Regions from separate parts of the Homo sapiens genome. Here all the other regions are linked to region 1. The links are contacts of gene promoters, found by promoter capture Hi-C in human tissues and cell types (Jung and others, 2019). All regions are on one chromosome and are shown on one strand. The core of a region is centred on a gene start or on the middle of the fragment in contact, and the rest is flanking DNA. Distances in the headings are between cores, read along the strand shown. Region 1 holds the start of POLR1E (RNA polymerase I subunit E). Region 2 overlaps SHB (SH2 domain containing adaptor protein B). Region 3 has its middle 23 kb from the start of SLC25A51. Region 4 holds the start of DCAF10 (DDB1 and CUL4 associated factor 10).

What was found. Contacts are between HindIII fragments. The study calls those that stand out against the background at their distance.
Region 2: a fragment that was not itself captured here is called in contact with the fragment with the promoter of POLR1E in region 1 in 1 of the 25 tissues and cell types used here (lymphoblastoid cells).
Region 3: a contact is called between a fragment that was not itself captured here and the fragment with the promoter of POLR1E in region 1, in 1 of the 25 tissues and cell types used here (dorsolateral prefrontal cortex).
Region 4: the fragment with the promoter of DCAF10 here is called in contact with the fragment with the promoter of POLR1E in region 1 in 1 of the 25 tissues and cell types used here (mesenchymal stem cells).

What each region holds. Positions count from the first base shown.
Region 1 is chr9:37,483,593-37,487,758 of GRCh38, reverse strand. It overlaps POLR1E (RNA polymerase I subunit E), which reads right to left and starts at 1,811. Exons shown (of 12, transcript NM_022490.4): 1 at 1,636-1,811; 2 at 953-1,056. The coding sequence starts at 1,711. RefSeq lists a silencer at 1,684-2,013 and an enhancer at 1,755-2,346. The HindIII fragment of the contact is 4,331 bases long and covers 511-4,166 here.
Region 2 is chr9:37,926,354-37,930,519 of GRCh38, reverse strand. All of the region lies in intron 5 of SHB (SH2 domain containing adaptor protein B), which reads left to right. Among named protein-coding and RNA genes, the nearest start is that of SLC25A51, 24 kb to the right of the region's middle. The HindIII fragment of the contact is 4,083 bases long and covers 1-3,967 here.
Region 3 is chr9:37,878,693-37,882,858 of GRCh38, reverse strand. It overlaps a transcript of SLC25A51 not described here and the pseudogene PAICSP1. Among named protein-coding and RNA genes, the nearest start is that of SLC25A51, 23 kb to the left of the region's middle. The HindIII fragment of the contact is 3,161 bases long and covers 809-3,969 here.
Region 4 is chr9:37,798,441-37,802,606 of GRCh38, reverse strand. It overlaps DCAF10 (DDB1 and CUL4 associated factor 10), which reads right to left and starts at 1,810. Exons shown (of 7, transcript NM_024345.5): 1 at 1,202-1,810. The coding sequence starts at 1,740. LOC105376037 (a long non-coding RNA gene) reads left to right here and starts at 1,716. Exons shown (of 3, transcript XR_929599.3): 1 at 1,716-1,940; 2 at 3,879-3,976. RefSeq lists enhancers at 679-728, 1,680-2,281 and silencers at 1,039-1,098, 1,319-1,838. The HindIII fragment of the contact is 16,578 bases long and covers 1-4,166 here.

The DNA of each region.
Region 1 (4,166 bases), core at 562-3,061:
ATGGATTAGAACTAGTTCATCTCTGGCAGATGATCCAGCCCCACTATCTCTAAGGGAATATGGGGTGTCCCTGCAGGGGAAGCAAGACGACTTCTGGAAGAGAAGCCTCAGATGGTGCTAGCTTCTAAATGGTATGAAAAGCTCTTGGGGGAATTCTGCCACAAGACTTGAGAGAGAGGCCCTGGGCTTCTGGCACTTAAAGGTATGCAACAAAGTGATTCTGTAAGCAATCTCTCTTTGGCCTGTTCTTTGTATACTCTCAGGACCATGGCTGATTCACTCCCCAATCATAAGCAAGCTTTCCTGCTTCTCTGCATTTGTCCTCACTATCCTTTTCACTCGAAACACCAAACGTTGACTGCCAAACCCTCATTCCAGCCTTCAAGGCTCAGCTCCAACATGACCTCACCAAGGAAGGCATTCTGGCAGAGACCTCTCCTCCCACTGAGCTCACTCTGCCCTGTACTCTTCCCCACGTGGCCTCAGAGCTTTGTGTAAAAGTGTCCCTCACAGCCAGTTCTCATCTCTCTAGAGCAGAGGTTCTCAATCCAGGGAAATCCACTCTGGTGCTACTGGCATCTAATGAGTAGAGACTAGGGATGCTGCCCCCACAGCAAAGAATTATTGGCCCAAAAAGTCAATAGTCCTGAGGTTGAGAAACCCTGCTCTAGAGTATGAACTCTGAGTGGGGCTAGGCCTGATTTGGCTGTTTTCCTAGAAGCTTGCAGCACAGGGATGCAGAGGGGCAGGTTCCATAAATGCTTGTTGAAAGAACAAATGAATGAAAGATGGAGCCTGTCCCCACATCCCAGGCTGCTGGGCATCAGAGTTCTTCAAAGCTCCATTTGCTACTACTCCCCTTTTTCTCCCCTCACTCCCTCCCACATCCACCCACTCCCAGGGGCCTTCTGAGCCCTGCAGAGTGGAGACAGCTGGCAACTGCTTCACTTACCAGGATCCGTTGATTCCTCTTCCTGGGGTTGGTGGAATCTTTGTTCTCATACAAGGTAAAGCGCATGTTGCCTGGACTCTGTAGCTTCCCGTTGGAGAACTGGACTGTAAGAGTGCAGCCCAAGAATGAGATGAGAGCAGAAGGCCACACAATGTACCACACAATGTACGGTGGGACTAGACTGTCACTGGGAGGGAGTGTCAGAATGGGGATGGCAAGGAAGCTCGGGTCCTGACCCAAAGGGAACTGGAGGAGATCCGGGGCCAGCTGAGAAGAGGAGGTAGGGAGGTGGGAGAACCCTGGGGAGGGGCTGTGACAGGAGGGAATGTCTCGCGGAAGGAGGCTGACAGCAGAGGCCTGGTACATACCTAAAGTGACAGAAGGAACCCCTGCCCAGTGAAGAGAGGGAAATGGGGGAGGCGGGAGACCTGGTGGGTGAGGGGGTCAGCAGGGTCCTGGACACAGCTCTGGGGAGCGGGTGAGTGGGATGTCCCAATCTGGCTGGGAGGTAGTGACAGAAAGACGGACAGGGGAGCCCTGACAGAGCCCAGGGGAGTGGTGGAGACTAGAGGGGTCCCGGCCCCGCTGGGGAGAAGCCCAACGGAGGGCGAGAGGACAGCTGAGGTACCGAGACGGAAGGGGAGAGGGTTAGAGGAGCACTGCTCCAGCTCCGCAGTCTTTACCCAGTACAGCTCTCTGGCTCCCGTCGGGCGCCCCACAATACTGCCACCTCGCACTCGGCAACACCTCCGCCGCCATCTCGCCTGTCTGTCCGCCAAGCACAGGAGTTAAGACAGCAGCAGCCACAAGCGCACTTTTAAACACGCGGGAGCCCAGGCCGCGCTGCGGGCCGGAAAAGGCGTGGCCCCGCCGGGCACCGCCCACAGCGCGCGAGCCGCGTGTCCCCGCCCCCCGCGTAGAGAGGCGTGGTCTCCGCCCACAAGGTGCCACACACCCGCTTGACTGGCCGAGGCGCAGCACCTGATTGGCTCAGCGCTCGCGTGCACTCTGGGTTTTGTAGGTCCAGAGCCCGAGGCGCCAAAGGCTTCAGCCTAAGCTTGCTATGAGCCTTCTTCCGGCTCAGCACCTTCTAAAGAGAGTGTCGTCTCTCTCTCCTACCGTGACAAACTCATCTTCCCAAGACCTGAAGGACCAAGTTCAAATTTAGAATTCTCTGACAGGAACTGCTTGAGCCCCAACTAAATGTGGCCGCTGGCGAATAGCCGCCCCTCTCTAGGGCTTCCCACCCACCCACGTGGACATCCAGCTCTAGGTACAAACTTTGTCCACAGTCCGACAAACAGCTCCCCGCCATGGGCTGTGGCGTGCACACCTGTGGCCCAATCAACACTGAGGTGATGGAACAGAAGCCCAGCCAACCCCGGAGCCTTTGGGCAGGAGATTCTGGACTGGAATAGAAGAGGGAGTCCGAGCTGATGGACATGTCCCTTTTTCACTGCGGATTCAACCCTTCTTCTGCACGGGGAGTTTTCAGAGCAGAAAGAAGGCGAAAGCAGGGCCTTTAAGCATGGACGCTGGCCGAGGCCCCCTTTGCCCAAAGATGCGTACTATTGAAGGGCAAGAACTCCGGTTGACTCCCCTCTGTCTTCCAAATCACCTTCTTTCAAGACTCTTTTCCTTCCACACACCCTCAACACCCGCCTCCAACACCCAGGATCCTAGGAATAACCCTAAAGCCTGCATGCCCCTTTGCCTGAGCACTTGTCACGCTTTTCTAATTACCCAATCTCAAACGTAAAGAAACACTGCAAGAAATGTTTTTGCCCTGAACCATTTAGAGTAAGTTGTCAACCTGATACCCTTTCAACCCTGAAGACTATAGTATTTCCTACAGACATTCCCTAAATAACAACACAGCCATCAGAATCAGCAAATTGCCGGGCGCAGTGGTTCACGCCTGCAATCCCAGCACTTTGGGAGGGAGAGGCAGTTCTATCCCTTGATTCCAGGAGTTTGAGACCAGGCTGGGCAACATAACAAGACCCTGTCTCTACAAAAAATAATATTAGCCATGTGTGGTGGCGCACGCGTGTCGTCCCAGCTACTCGGGAGGCTGAGGTGGGAGGATTGCTTGAGCCTAGGAGGCAGAGGCTGCAGTGAGCTGTGATGGTGCCACTGCACTCTAGCCTGGGCGACAAAAAAAAAAAAAAAAATTAAACAGAAAAGAATCAGGAAATTAGCACTGGTACATTACCACCATGTAATCCTCACATCCCATTTAAGTTCACCCATTGTCCCAACGTTTGTTGTTAGTTTGTTTTTTGAGACAGGGTCTCACTCTGTCACCCAGGCTGGAGTGCAGTGTTGCAACCAGGGCTCACTGCAGCCTTGACCTTCCAGGCTCAAGTGATCCTCTCACCACAACCTGGGAATACAAGTGTGTGCCACCACACTCAGTTTTGTTTTGTTTTTTCTTAATTAAAAAAATTTTTTGTAGAGACTAGGTCTCACTGTGTTGCCAGGGCTGGTCTCAGACTCCTGGGCTCAAGTGATCCTCCCACCTTGGCCTCCCAAAGTTCTGGGATTACAGGCGTGAGCCATTGCAGCTGGCCCAATCATGTTTTTATAGCAAAAATGTCCTGTCAAGAATCATGTGTTGCATTTAGCTCTCATAGCCTTTCCTCCCTTAGAAGGCTACCTTGCTTGACCCCACCTCATGATTTTGGATTGAATTGTTCAGGAAAGGAAAAGGGAAGAAGAAGAAAGAAGAAAGAAGGATGAAGAAAGAAGAGCTTAATTGTGTGATTGTCTCACCCATTGATTGTTTCCTCACTAAACTTACTTGGGGTTCACAATAAACACTTTGGAGGTTAATAAACAAATTTATGTTTGTTTTGATCACTGCTTTATCTCCAAATCCTGAACATACTAGACCCTCAATAAATATGGAATGAATTAATGAATGACAGGGCAAAGAATGGGCCTGAATTATCACTAATCTTGGAAGCCTAGCACAGGGACTGGAACTCAAAGATGTTTGGTAATATTGGTTGAAATCAACTAGCATAGGGTTTACACATAACAGACTCTATAAATGTTTTTTGGTTGAATGAAAATATGAACAGTTAAATCAAAGTTAAAGGTGACCAAGATAACAGTGGCTACAATGAGCCAAGTATAGTTCTTAAGAGAAGTATCTTGTGATATAGGAACACATTATATGGCCTTGTTACTCATGATATAGGAACACATT
Region 2 (4,166 bases), core at 677-3,176, 440 kb before region 1:
CAAGAGCAAAGGTCCATGGGGTGACTCGGGATGAGAAATGAGGAGCAGGGGGCATTGCTGCTTCCTTCCCCTCTCCCCTCCCTGCATGTCCCCTCCCCCTGCCACATCCCCCACCCCAGCTTGTCACACCCCATTACTGCAGACTCTAGTCTGCTGGTCTTGCCAGAGAATCCTCCGCAATAGAGGCATGGGGCAGGGGCTGTATTGCGGAAAGAGAGCAAACCTCTGCCCTTCTCTGAGCCTCAGTGTCATCTGTAAAATGATGACAGGGAACCAAATGATCTCAGAGTATCTGGTTGGTGTCTTGTCTCCCTCAGAAATGTTGCATTTAGAGCAGTGCACACAGTAGACACTTAATAAATGCCATTGACCATCTATGACCAGTTTCCTGTTTAGTTCGTTTTCTGTTTTGTTTTTTGAGACAGGGTCTCACTCTGTCGCCCAGGCTGGACTGCATTGGTGTGAACACAACTCACTACAGCCTCAGCCTGCCAGGCTCAAGCAATCCTCCCACCTCAGCCTCCCAAGTAGCCGGGACTACAAGCGTGTGCCACCATGCCCGGCTAATTTTTAAATTTTCTACAGAGATGAGGTCTCACGATGTTGCCCAGGCTGGTCTCACAAACTCCTAGGCTCAAGAAATTCTCCCGCATTGGCCTTCCAAAGTGCTGGGAGTGCATGAGTCACCACGCCCAGCTTCCTTTTCTCTTTTCATGTGGATCCTGTGTGCAACAGTGTGCCTTAGAGACTGTGGTGAAAGAACACTTGATGTTTCAGGAAATCGATCTCAGGGCAGTAAACGCCTTGCCCCGTGTCATCCGGCCACAGAGCTGGGCCAGAACCCAGGTATCCCACCCCAGCCAGGCAGGCTGCCCAACTGGAGGAGACGCTCCTGCAGCCACATCCATGGCTTCTGGGCTGCCAATGCAGCCGTGAATGACAGAGCAGACGTATGGGAAACCTAGCTCAGTGCTCAGCCCAGACAGCACAGAGCCAGCCAGGTGCACCAGACACACCAGACAGGCGGCCACTGGTGCAGTGGCTCCTGCCCAGCAGATGAGAACAAGACCCACGCCAGGACCCTGAGTCCTGCACTGGCGTCAGTATTTTCTGAAAGGCACTGTTCTTCATTTAAAAATTTAAAAATGCATTAAGCTGGAATCTAGTGCCAGCCCCCTGTTTCACGTCATGCTTATCCGAGGGGCCTGCCAAAGAGTGCAGATTTGTACCCAGGTGACCAGGCTCCAACGACATCCTGCATACTCGGCGGCACCTCCGCACCTGGCGAGCCTTGCTTCCCTGCTGTCCAGACCTCAGACTACCCTTGTGGGTGAACAGTGAAAGCTCTACTTCCCAGATGAGGACCTGAAGCTCAGACCAGGCACAGTTCAGGGCAGGGACTCAGATACAGGTCTGGGTGGCCCTGAGCCTGGGCTGCGTACAGCACCATCCTCAGGCACCCCAAGGCCCACCCCCCTCTCCAGCCCTGCCTGGGTCAACCCCAGGGCGCTGGCCCCCTTTGGGCTATAAAAGCCATTGTGCGCTCCAAGTCCTCCCCTCGGCAGCTGGGGCTTCCCCCGAGGCTGCCTTGGCCCAGCCTCTGCATGGTCCTGCTCTGGAGTCTCCTCAGATGTGGTACATCTCCCACCATGTGCTGCTCAGGTGGGACTAGGGGGTCCTGTCCTTGGAAACAGCCTGGAGCCCTCTGGAACCAAGCCATTTGGCAGATTCCGCTCTGTGTCTTACACCTTTACATAAGGGGCCAGGCGAGCCGGGATTCGTCAGACGTTCACACTTCATGTGGAGGTTCTCATCTGCCCCTCACCACAGCAGCAAGGGTGGACTCTGGTTATTCCCATGTTGTGGATGCAGAATTTGAGGCACTGGCCGTCTAGCGAGTGGTGTGGCTTTAGCCTAGGCACTGTGGGAAGCTGGGCTACATTATTCTTTGTTGTGGGGGCTGTGCTGTGCGTCGTAGGGTATTTAGCAGCGTCCCTGGCCTCCTCTTACTTAGATGCCAGTAGCACCTATGTACCAAGACATTGCGAGTATTCCCCAGGGAAGAGGGAGTGCAAAATTGCCCCAGGTAGGAGCCACTGCTTTAAGGAGCCTAAGGGCTCAGATAGCCTTGTCCTCAGTAGGAAGAGATCACCCTTGGCCTGGATTCTGTCCATCCTGTTGGCACAGGCATGAGAAGCCTGCTTTTGTCATTTTGCTGTCCCCAAGCCCAGGATCCACTGTGGCCAGTGTACCCACCTGTCTCCCTCCATGAGGGGAGCCATTCTGCCCTGCCTTGTTCCTCCTGCTGTGGTGCTCCCACCCACACTGGCATGTCCGTCACTGACTTGAGAACTCAGCACTGAAGGGATCCCCTCCAGCTTTTCCAGAGGGAGACGCTGAGGCCCAGGGGGAGGGGACTTGCCCAGCCAATGATATCAGTGGGATCAGACTTTGAACTTCCTCCCTTTGGGGAAGCGCCCAGGGCTGAAGAGTGGAGAAAAATAATTTCCGACACACAGGCCTTCATGTTCCTAGAAAAGTCCTCAATTAGAGGTAGAAAAAAAAAAAAGAGAGAAAGAGAAAGAGAGGAAGGAAAGAAAGAAGCCCTAGACCCTGTTTCCCTTTCCTGAAGCTTTGGCAGCATTTCACCATCCCCCTCCGCTTCTGCGTCCAGCCCTCCTTGCAGTTTCCACGTGCACTTGGCTGAGGCTGGTGGGAACCCTGAGGGGGGACTACAAAAGGCATCCAGCGGGATCCACCCACCAAGTGTCATTGCCTTCCCACTTACACACCCCTGGTAATGGGAGGCTTACTCCCTCAGTCTGAGCGCTCATCATTTAAAAACTTCTTGTCTAATAATGTGTTGGTTTTCTCATGAGAAAAATTGCCCAAAATGGGTTCATTTTGACATACCTACTGCTTTGTGTGCTAAAACGAGCCTTATGCCTCTACATGTTCGCCAGGAGAGGCATCTGCCAGCTCTCCTGCCTAGAGATGGCTTTTTGTCATGATTTACTGAAGGCCTTCACCCTGGGCCACCAACTTAGAGCTTGAGAAATGCCCTGGCGTCTCGGGTAGGCTAATCGCTGCTGATGCGTCTATTGAAAGTCTAATTATTTGGTTGTAAATCACGTCATTTTGCTCAGCAGCGTTTACATTGAGACGTTTGTTCACAATAACTTGGTGTGTGTGTCTTTGGCTTGTCACTGTGAAGGCTGCTTTGGAAGCTGTGGGCAGGATGCAGGTGTTGGCCACGTGGCCTCCTAAGCTCCTTTATCCCAGCTGCCTTGACTATTAGAACATCTCAGCTAGAAGGAGCCTCCATGCCCCCTGCCCCACGCCTCAGACAGCTGGAGAAACCAGTCACACAGTGAGATGCACTTACATCCTGGTCCCCTGGCTTGGGAAGCCCTGATAGCCTTGCATCGTGACTGGGCAAGTTGCTTCTCCCTCAGACCCTTAGTCTTCTCATCTGTGCAGTGGGTATCTTGCATATAATGCCAGCCCTCCCAGCTTCCTTGGGAGGCCACAGGTTAGTCCAGTCATGGACCAAGGGAGCATTTAAGGTCTTCTCAGCCATGCCAGAGGTAGGCCAGGCCCTGTGTGAGTGGGATCTGCCTGGGCTCTGGGTGAGTAATTGGACCACAGAGGTGGACTGTTGAAATATTTGCTGTGGAGAAGCCACATCTCTCACAGTGTTGGGGCAGTGTCTGTAAGGAGGTAGCCCAGGTCCAGGCTACAGCTCTCCATGCATTTGGGATTGTTGGCTTTCTGCTAAGATAGCAGGGCCCTCTCTTTGCTGAATGCTGTACTGAAACAGTGGCCTAATTCTCTTCAGAGATCTCTACCGCCTCTTTATCTACCACACATTGAGGGAGAACGGGGTCGTGTGTCTGCCTGGCAGGCGGGCACCCACTCTGGCTCTGTGAAGATTCAATGGACTTGTGTTCAGTCTCACTTCTCGCCTCAGTGGCTGCATAGTCCCAGGCCAGTCACTTGAGCCCTCTGACTCTGTTTCCCCACCTGGAATCTGTAGGCCCATCTCTTGGTGTTGCTGTGAAGAGGTACATAGAGCTCTTGGCAGCATGGCCACAGTCGGTAAGATGGGTAATGCTGTGCTTCTCGAATCTTCTAGCACTAGTGTTGCTGAAGTGGCTGCATCCTGC
Region 3 (4,166 bases), core at 1,140-3,639, 390 kb before region 1:
AAAAAAAATTGAAAAGGCAAATGTGATTGAATATCTGAAAAGCTTTAAAAGTGGCCTTTCTGTTACGTCTGTGGCACAAATGGCTCATGAGCGCAGGACACTTATGGTCTTGTGTCCTATACTTCATGTGTGATGCCACCAGAAATGTTATGGATTCCGTATTGAACACACTGAGAGTGGTATGAGCCCTCAGGACTGCACCACAGAGTAAACACAACCTTGATATGGTGGCGAATATGTGTGTCTTTCTTGTTTCATTTGTGGTTGGGGACAAAATCGATGTATTTGTCTAAATAGTCGATATTCATCTTAACATGGTTGGTTGTGTAATCACCAGCTATATTGTGAACTGTGCAATAAAACAGAAGCGTTTGTGTATATAATTACCTTTGGATACCTGAAATTCCCAAGCTTGGTTACAATGTAATGCTCAGTATAAGGCTGTGCAAACATGTAAGGGAATAATGGTGGTCGATGGGATATATGAAATGGGATCTAGAGGGCTTCGAGTGAAGCCAATCATGTTGAACGAACACTGGTTCAGTGTAGATGAAGTAGAGTGAGGCGTATGCAGTCATAAAATGAAGGGTGGACAGGAGATTACATTTGAAGAAAGGATAAGCACTCAGACTTGGTCTCTTTTAAATTAAAATATTTCTTTTCTCATGTGCAAATGTATATCAAAGACTTGAACAGGTATTCTCTTGAAATTTGAGGATTTTTAGTTTTTAATGCTGTCTTTGCTTAATATTAAATATGTGTTGCCTATTGGCTCCCAAATTGTGTGGGAGTCTCTAAATGTTTCCTCTTGAAGGTTCATTATTGAAAGTGGTTAAGTGCACAATGCTATTTTTGTTTGATAGTTTGAGTTTTATGACCCTATGAGTTTAAATGAAATCTGTTAAATGTTTCAGAGTTAACACTTTTTTTTTGATAATTTGGAATAAAGTTTGTTTTTTAAGCCCACTCTTTTTGGTCTTCTCTTATGCTTGAGTAGTTGCTTGTTACTGGCACGTTCCTTTTTTGTGGTAGTGATAGATTGATCTGTTAGTCTTTTTATTCAGAAAACATTTAGCACACTACCTTGACTTTTAGCAACTTAACCTGGGGATGTTGCAGGTAAAACATTCCTTTGTCTATCCATCTTATTTCGTCAAGAGGGGTTTCATATAAGTTTTATTTTCCAGGTAGTTTAACTGCAAAGCTTTTTGTTTGTTTGTTTGACAGGGTTTCTATTGCCTGGGCTGGAGTGTAGTGGCATGATCATGGCTCACTATAGCCTTGACTTCCTGGGCTCAAGCGATCCTTCCGCCTCAGCCTCCTGAGTAGCTGGGACTACAGGTACGTGCCACCAAGCCCAGCTAATTTTTGTAGAGATTTTCATCATGTTGCCCAGGCTGGTCTTGAACTCCTGGGCTCGAGCAATCTGCCCACCTTGGCCTCCCAAAAGTCTGGGATTACAGGCGTGAGCTACTGTGCCTGGCCACATTTTATTTCTTAAAGGTCTTCCTCATATTTAATACACTTCTCTACTGAGTTTAAACTTTCTTGGTTTAGCTTATCAGTACTTTCTGTTGTAATAGAGTAGCCTCATGCAATGTTTACTCCCAAGTTACATGGTCTGGATGTTTGTGCTTTTCATTTTTTTTTTTTTTTTATATCTACTTTTGCCTTCAGAGCTGCTCCTTTCTGTTGTAGCTCATTGGTTAGGAGAGTGTGAAGTTTTAGCCACATTGTGAATTTGCATGTTAAGTTTTAGGTTGTTTCCTGGCTTTAGAGATCATTGAGGTTGCCTGATAAGGACAGCAAGGTAAAGGAGCAGTTGCTTCTAAAAGTCCTGTTTTGGATTGAAATCCATCATAAAGAATAAGTGTAATATCCTGAACTTGTACATTTAGATTTGATAAAAAGGGTGTTTAATCATCATCTGATGAAATCTTTTAACCCACCCATAGCAGCCACTGTAGAGTTCTAGACCTCCAGAGTGAGGAGTAGGTGTGACCAGGAACAGCCCTGGGGGATCTCTGCATAGCTACAGAGCACTCCCAATCCCCAAGAGACTGGTTCCCATCTTAAATCTTTTTATTTATTTATTTACTTTTTTATTTAGAGACGGGGTTTCGCTCTTGTGACCAGGCTGGAATGCAATGGCGTGATCTCGGCTCACCGCAACCTCCGACCTCTGGGTTCAAGTGATTCTCCTGCCTCCGCCTCCCAAGTAGCTGGGATTACAGGCATGCGCCACCACGCCTGGCTAATTTTGTATTTTTAGTAGAGATGGGGTTTCTCCATGTTGGTCAGGCTGGTCTCAAACTCCTAACCTCAGGTGATCTGCCCACCTCGGCCTCCCAAAGTGCTGGGATTATAGGCGTGAGCCACCGCGCCGGCTGCCTTAAATCTATTTATCTGACGTTCCCAACTAGGAAATTTTTTGTCCAAATGAGTATATGTGATTTTAAAGTAGAAATCGAAGGTAAAATAGGATTTATCTCAGTTCCTATCTCCCTTCAATCTATTCTTCATATTGTCAATAATTTTTTTTTTTTTTTTTGAGACGTGGTCTCTGTCGCCAGGCTGGAGTGCAGTGGTGAAATCTTGGCTCACTGCACCCTCTGCCTCCTGTGTTCAGGCGACTCTCCTGCCTCAGCCTCCGGAGTAGCTGGGATTGCAGGCATCCGCCATCACACCCGGCTAAATTTCGTATTTTTTCAGTAGAGACAGTTTTGCGCCAGGCTGGTCTCAAACTCCTGACCTTAAGTGATCCACCTGCCTCAGCCTCCCAAAGTGCTGGGATTACAGGCGTGAGCCGCCGTGCCCGGCCATCAGTAATTTTTTAAAATGTCACTTCAATAAATGCTTTTCCTCTGCCATAAAGACCAAACATCTTGCTGTGGCCTACAGGAGACAGGATGATCCAGCCCTTGCCTCCCTTACTCTCATCTCTAGCTAAAACTGCGCTGCTGTCTCTGCACTCCAGCCACTGGCACTTCCTGATTACTTGGGGCACGCTGTACTCATCTTGCTCCCAGCCTCTGCCCATGCAGGTGCCCTCTGCCCTCAGCACTGCCTTTCTCTACTTCATTTATAGACTGCTGTCCTTCAGATCTCGGTTGAAGTGTCACTTCCTTGGGGAAGCTGGCTTACACTCTCAGGACTCGGTTAGGTTCCCCCGTCAGGCTCTTCTATGTCACCATGTTTCTATTTTTCACAGCACTTAACCTGTTTTAATTACGTTGCAAATAGTTTTTGTTTGGGTCTAGAGAAGCATGTATTCACTAGTACATTTTATTTGTGTTCTCTAATTATTTTTTCTGCAGCTAAATTAGAAATTTGTAGTTTTCCCCCTAAAAATGCAATGATGTTTTCTCTGATTTTCTTGTCACCTTTCTTCCAAAAAATCCATGTGTTCAAAGTGCTTGCTTGCAGTTTGCCCCATAATAAATGGTTGTTTAATCCAAATATCTGAGTAGCAAACTGAGCTGATCCTTCTGGAGAAAGTATGGTTGAATAGCCGAGACCACTGAGTAGTCGCAGAGAAGACCACACATCCTGAACTCCTCAGTCTGGTGTGAGGGGAGGACAATAGATAACTGGATGTGTAGTGTTCCCAAACATCACTGATCCCAAACCATTGCTTCTGCCTGCCACTGCCACAAATACAGTACGACTGCCACCCCTTCATACTCAGCTTTAATCCTCAGCATTTCTTCTGGTCCTTTATGTGCAGATGTTACTCAAAGTCTACATGGAATGCCAAAATTTCCACAGGCCTTGATTTTTTTCACGGTGATTAAGATCAGAAGTAGAACCCATCAATACTATAACACTGCACTGACTTTCTGATTTCAAAAGCAACTCTACTCTCTACAACCCACGCAAAGTTTTTCCTTACCATTTGGAACCCTTCAGGAGTTACACTGAAGCCTTGATAAGACTGTTTCAGCCAGGAGTGGTGGCTCACGCCTGTAATCCCAGCACTTTGGGAGGCTAAGGCAGGAGGATTGCTTGAGTCTGGGCAACATGGCAAGACTGGCTCTATTTTTTTAAAATAACATTTTTAAAAGTATGATTAAAAGACTGTCTTTCTATTGGCTTTGCTCCCCCGATGGTGAGTGTCTCTAGGAGTCATTATCAATAACATCAGTGAGAATTTCTTTGCTGGTCAC
Region 4 (4,166 bases), core at 561-3,060, 310 kb before region 1:
TCCTTAGCAACTTCAGGTCTTTCTTCAGTAAAATTTTTTGCTTTGTAAACCTATTTTTTTTCACCTCCTGTAACATGATATGCTGCCCTTCTACGACCTTTGACATACCAATCATCTCCATCTGAAATACTTCTATCCCTTTCCCAACCCTATCTTGACTAATTTATTTCGTACTCATTTTTATTTTCATTTAGGTGCCACTTCCTCAGGGAATCCGTGAACACAGTGTCCATAACAGATTCCTTCAAGACTTTATCTCAATTAACAAATATATTTTATGCATTATTTAGTAAGGCTATCTACTATCTAGTTGAACCATTAAGTCCCAGGCTCAATGAAAACAGTGCCATTAGCTGGTTTTGCTCAGCATGGTTACTCCTGCATTTGGAACATAGCAAGTGCTCAACAAATATACGCCGAATGAGAGAATGAATGAATGAACAACTGAGTAAACAACTAGCAACCGAGAGGCTTGGTGGGGTAAGAATTACATTAACTATGTCACCTCATGGTGGAACTGTGCACATTTTTTCTTTTGATGGCGGACTTGTGTACTGACAAGACAAAGTTTTAAATAGATACGATTTTGGAAAGTTCCCTTTAAAGCAAAGCCATACAATAAATATTTAATCAGCCAAGAAAAAGGCTGTAGTCTAGCCTGGGGACTTCACAAATGACCCAAATCATGAGAGCCACGTCTCTACAGTGTCTTAGTACTGTATCTTCCTTGAGCAAAGGAACGCACTTGCCCCATCATGGCAAGTTCAGGTACAGAGTGCAAGGAATCTACAGCTTTCCTACCCCGACACAGGTTTAGGTAGGAAAACGCGAGCCTAGGATGATGGGGAGAAAGCGGGCATTTATTCAAAATGTATTTACTGAGCACCTACTGTGTACCAGAAAGCCCTAGTTGTGGGCTGGCTCTGACAGGTCCGCTGTGTAGCTTCGGGCATTTCTCCTTCACAGAGCCCAAGTCCTGAAGGCGAGCAAGTGGGGCCCCGCCTGCCTGCCTCAAAAAGCTGGGCTGGGGATTCCAAGGGCGAGAATGCGCTTCAGAAAGTGCCAGGAGGCACGAAGGCCAGCGGCCCCAAACGGCCTCGCTAACCTCGGCCCGGGCGCGGGGAGCGAGCCCAGGACGGCCGTCCGCTGGCAGCAGAGCCGGGCGGAGGCGGGCGCCCGCCCTCCGAGGGGCCGCGCTTACCCGTCGGGCGAGTACTCGAGGTTGAAGACGGCGCCGTGGGTGCGGGTGCTGAGGTACACCGAGTCCGCGGGGTGGATGGAACCGTAGAGGCTAGTCATGGTGCGAAAATTGTCCCGCGCCGGGTCCACGAACAGCCCGCGGCCCAGGCTGCGCTCTTTCAGCCACCCGAACAGCCTAGCGCCAGGGCCGCCCAGGCCCGCGCCGAGGCCGTGTCGGCCCCGGCTCTTGGCCCTGCAGTCTGGCCCGGGCCGCCGGCACGGAGGGGAGGGAGGTGACGGCTCTCCCGGGGCGGAGGCAGTTGAGGACTCCGGAGCTCCAGGCAGCCCTAGCTCTCCGGAGCGCGGGGCCGGGGACAGCGATGGGGCGCCGGGGCGGCGAGGGCTTCGGGCGGGTGGAGGGGGATGGGTCGCATCAGCCCCGGGATGTAGTGGCGAGGGCGGCCCGGTGGCTGCTGCCTGCCCCTCGTGGGGCGTCGGCTCCTCAGCCCCGGCTCCGGCCGATCCGTCCCCTCCAGGGCTATGGGGCCCAAAGGGAAACATGATCAACGCCCCCGCCCCCCGCTCCGGGCCACTGCCCCGCCGGCCGACACCTCAGTGCCCCTGTTCAGCTGCCACTTCCGGCGTGCAGCGGCCTAACCCCACCGGCTGGAAACCCGCGCCGCCCCTCGGCCACCGTCCGCCGGGGACCGGGAAAGCTGAGACACCGCCGGGTTTGGGGCGCCGCAGTCCCGGGAACGGAGGTAGGGAGCGAGTAGTTACCTGTGTGAGCGACTGAGCATCTGGGCACCTGATCTGGGTGGCAGAGTCGGTCTGTAGTTGTCAGTGACCGGTGGCCGCGTGCCTGGGGATGAGTGGCCTGACCAGTCAGTCCTGTGAGGCTGAGTATGTACTGGTGTCTCCACTTTACACTGGGATCAGCGAGGGATTAAGAATTAGTGCATTACGTGCAGGCCACACACAATAGGTGACATGCCACTCTTTTTTTTTTTTTTTTTTTCCGAGATGGAGTCTCGCGCTGTCGCCCAGGCTGGAGTGCAGTGGCGCGATCTCGGCTCACTGCAACCTCCGTCTCCCGGGTTCAAGCAATTCTCTGCCCCAGCCTCCCGAGCAGCTGGGATTACAGGCGCCCACCACCACGCCCGGCTAATTTTTTGTATTTTTTAGTAGAGATAGGGTTTCACCATCTTGGCCTGGCTGGTCTTGAACCTCGTGATCCACCCGCCTCGGCCTCCCGAAGTGCTGGGATTACAGGCATGAGCCACCGCGCCTGGCCAGCATGCCCAACTCTTAAAGGCACAACAAGTTCAGGGTGACCACAGGCAGCTTCTTCCAAAACCTATTTGTCACAAGGCAAAGGAGAGACTGAGAGGAAACAGGTTTGGATGTGCTACCCAAGGAATGGCTGAGATAGCCAGTCTGTGTATCTGGGCTTAAATGAAAGATGGCAAATAGGTGATAGTTACTTTTCTGGGTCAACTTGACTGGGCTAACAGATGCCCAGATAGCCTGGAAAACCATTATTTCTGTGTGTGCCTGTGAGGGTGTTTCCAGGACAGATTAGCATTTGAATCAATAGAAGATCTGCCCTCACCATTGTGGACAGGCATCATCCTATTCATTAAAGACTGAAAAGGAACAAAAAGGCAGAAGGGTGATTTAACTTTCTCTTAAGTTGGTACATCCATCTCCTGCCCTTAGACATCAAAACTCGGTTCTGCGGGCTTTGGACTTGGGGACTCATCGTCAGTTTTCAGGCCTTCAGTCTTGGACCGGGAGTTATACCATTAGCTCCTCTGATTCTCACACCTTCAGACTCAGACTGAATTACACCACCAGATTTCCTGGTTCTCCAGCTTGCAGACTGCAGATCATGGGACTCCTCTACAATGATATGAACCAATTCCCATATTAAATGTTCTCTTATATCTATATCTCCTATTGGTTCTACTTCTCTGGAGACCCCCTGGATGGGTCCAATCTACTGTAGCAGCCTACTTGCCTGGCATTCACACTCTTCATGTGTATGCCAGCACGTATATTCTACTGAACCCATCCTAGAAGTCCTAGGCTGTCGAATTTTGTAGCTGTTACTTAGCTTTCCTTGCCTACTAGCCGGGGTAGGACAACTATTTGAGTAACCAGGCTATAGATTAGCCACTGGTCCATGAGGCTGCCAGACCAAAAGTCTTTGCCCATACAGACTCATGCTCTTGGGAATTTGAATTGGGAAATCAGAAGTGAGGCAGTTGGCCATGATGGTTGGGATTGAAAAGTCATAAGGCAGAGTGAGGCCGCTGGAGTCCTGAGCAAACCAAAGGAGTAAGAGAAATCATGAGAAAGCAGCAGCCATGAGAGAACAGACTTGGGATAGACGGTGAGAAAGAAAGTTGATGGTAGGAGGAGATACAGATACATAAAAAGAGACAGACTCAGAACAGGTTAGACTTGTTCTTGGCAGAGTCCCCCTAGGGTCTTCCTGCAGAGTCCCTTGAGGTACCAGAATGATGGCTGCTCAATTTCAGTTTCAGTTTCCTGTGGGATGATCACTTGATTTCACAATACCTGAACCAGGACTTATGCACTGACAAAAAGAATCAAGGGCCAGACACAGTGGCTCACACCTGTAATCTCAGTGCTTTGGGAGGCCAAGGTAGGAGGATCTTTTTTTTTTTTTTCAGGGTCTCACTCTGTTGACCAGGATGGAGTACAGTAATACAGTCATGGCTCACTGCAGCCTCAACCTCCCAAGCTCAAGCAGCAGGAAGATCTTTTGAGGGTAAGGAGTTTGAGACCAGCCTGGGCAACATCATGAAACTCTGTCTCTCTATGAAAAATAACAAAATCATTCCGGTGTGGTGATGCATGCTTGTAGTCCTAGCTGCTCGGAAGGCTGAGCCAGGAGGATCCCTTGAGCCCAGGAGTTCAAGGTTACAGTGAGCTGTGATCACCCTGCACTTCAGCCTGTT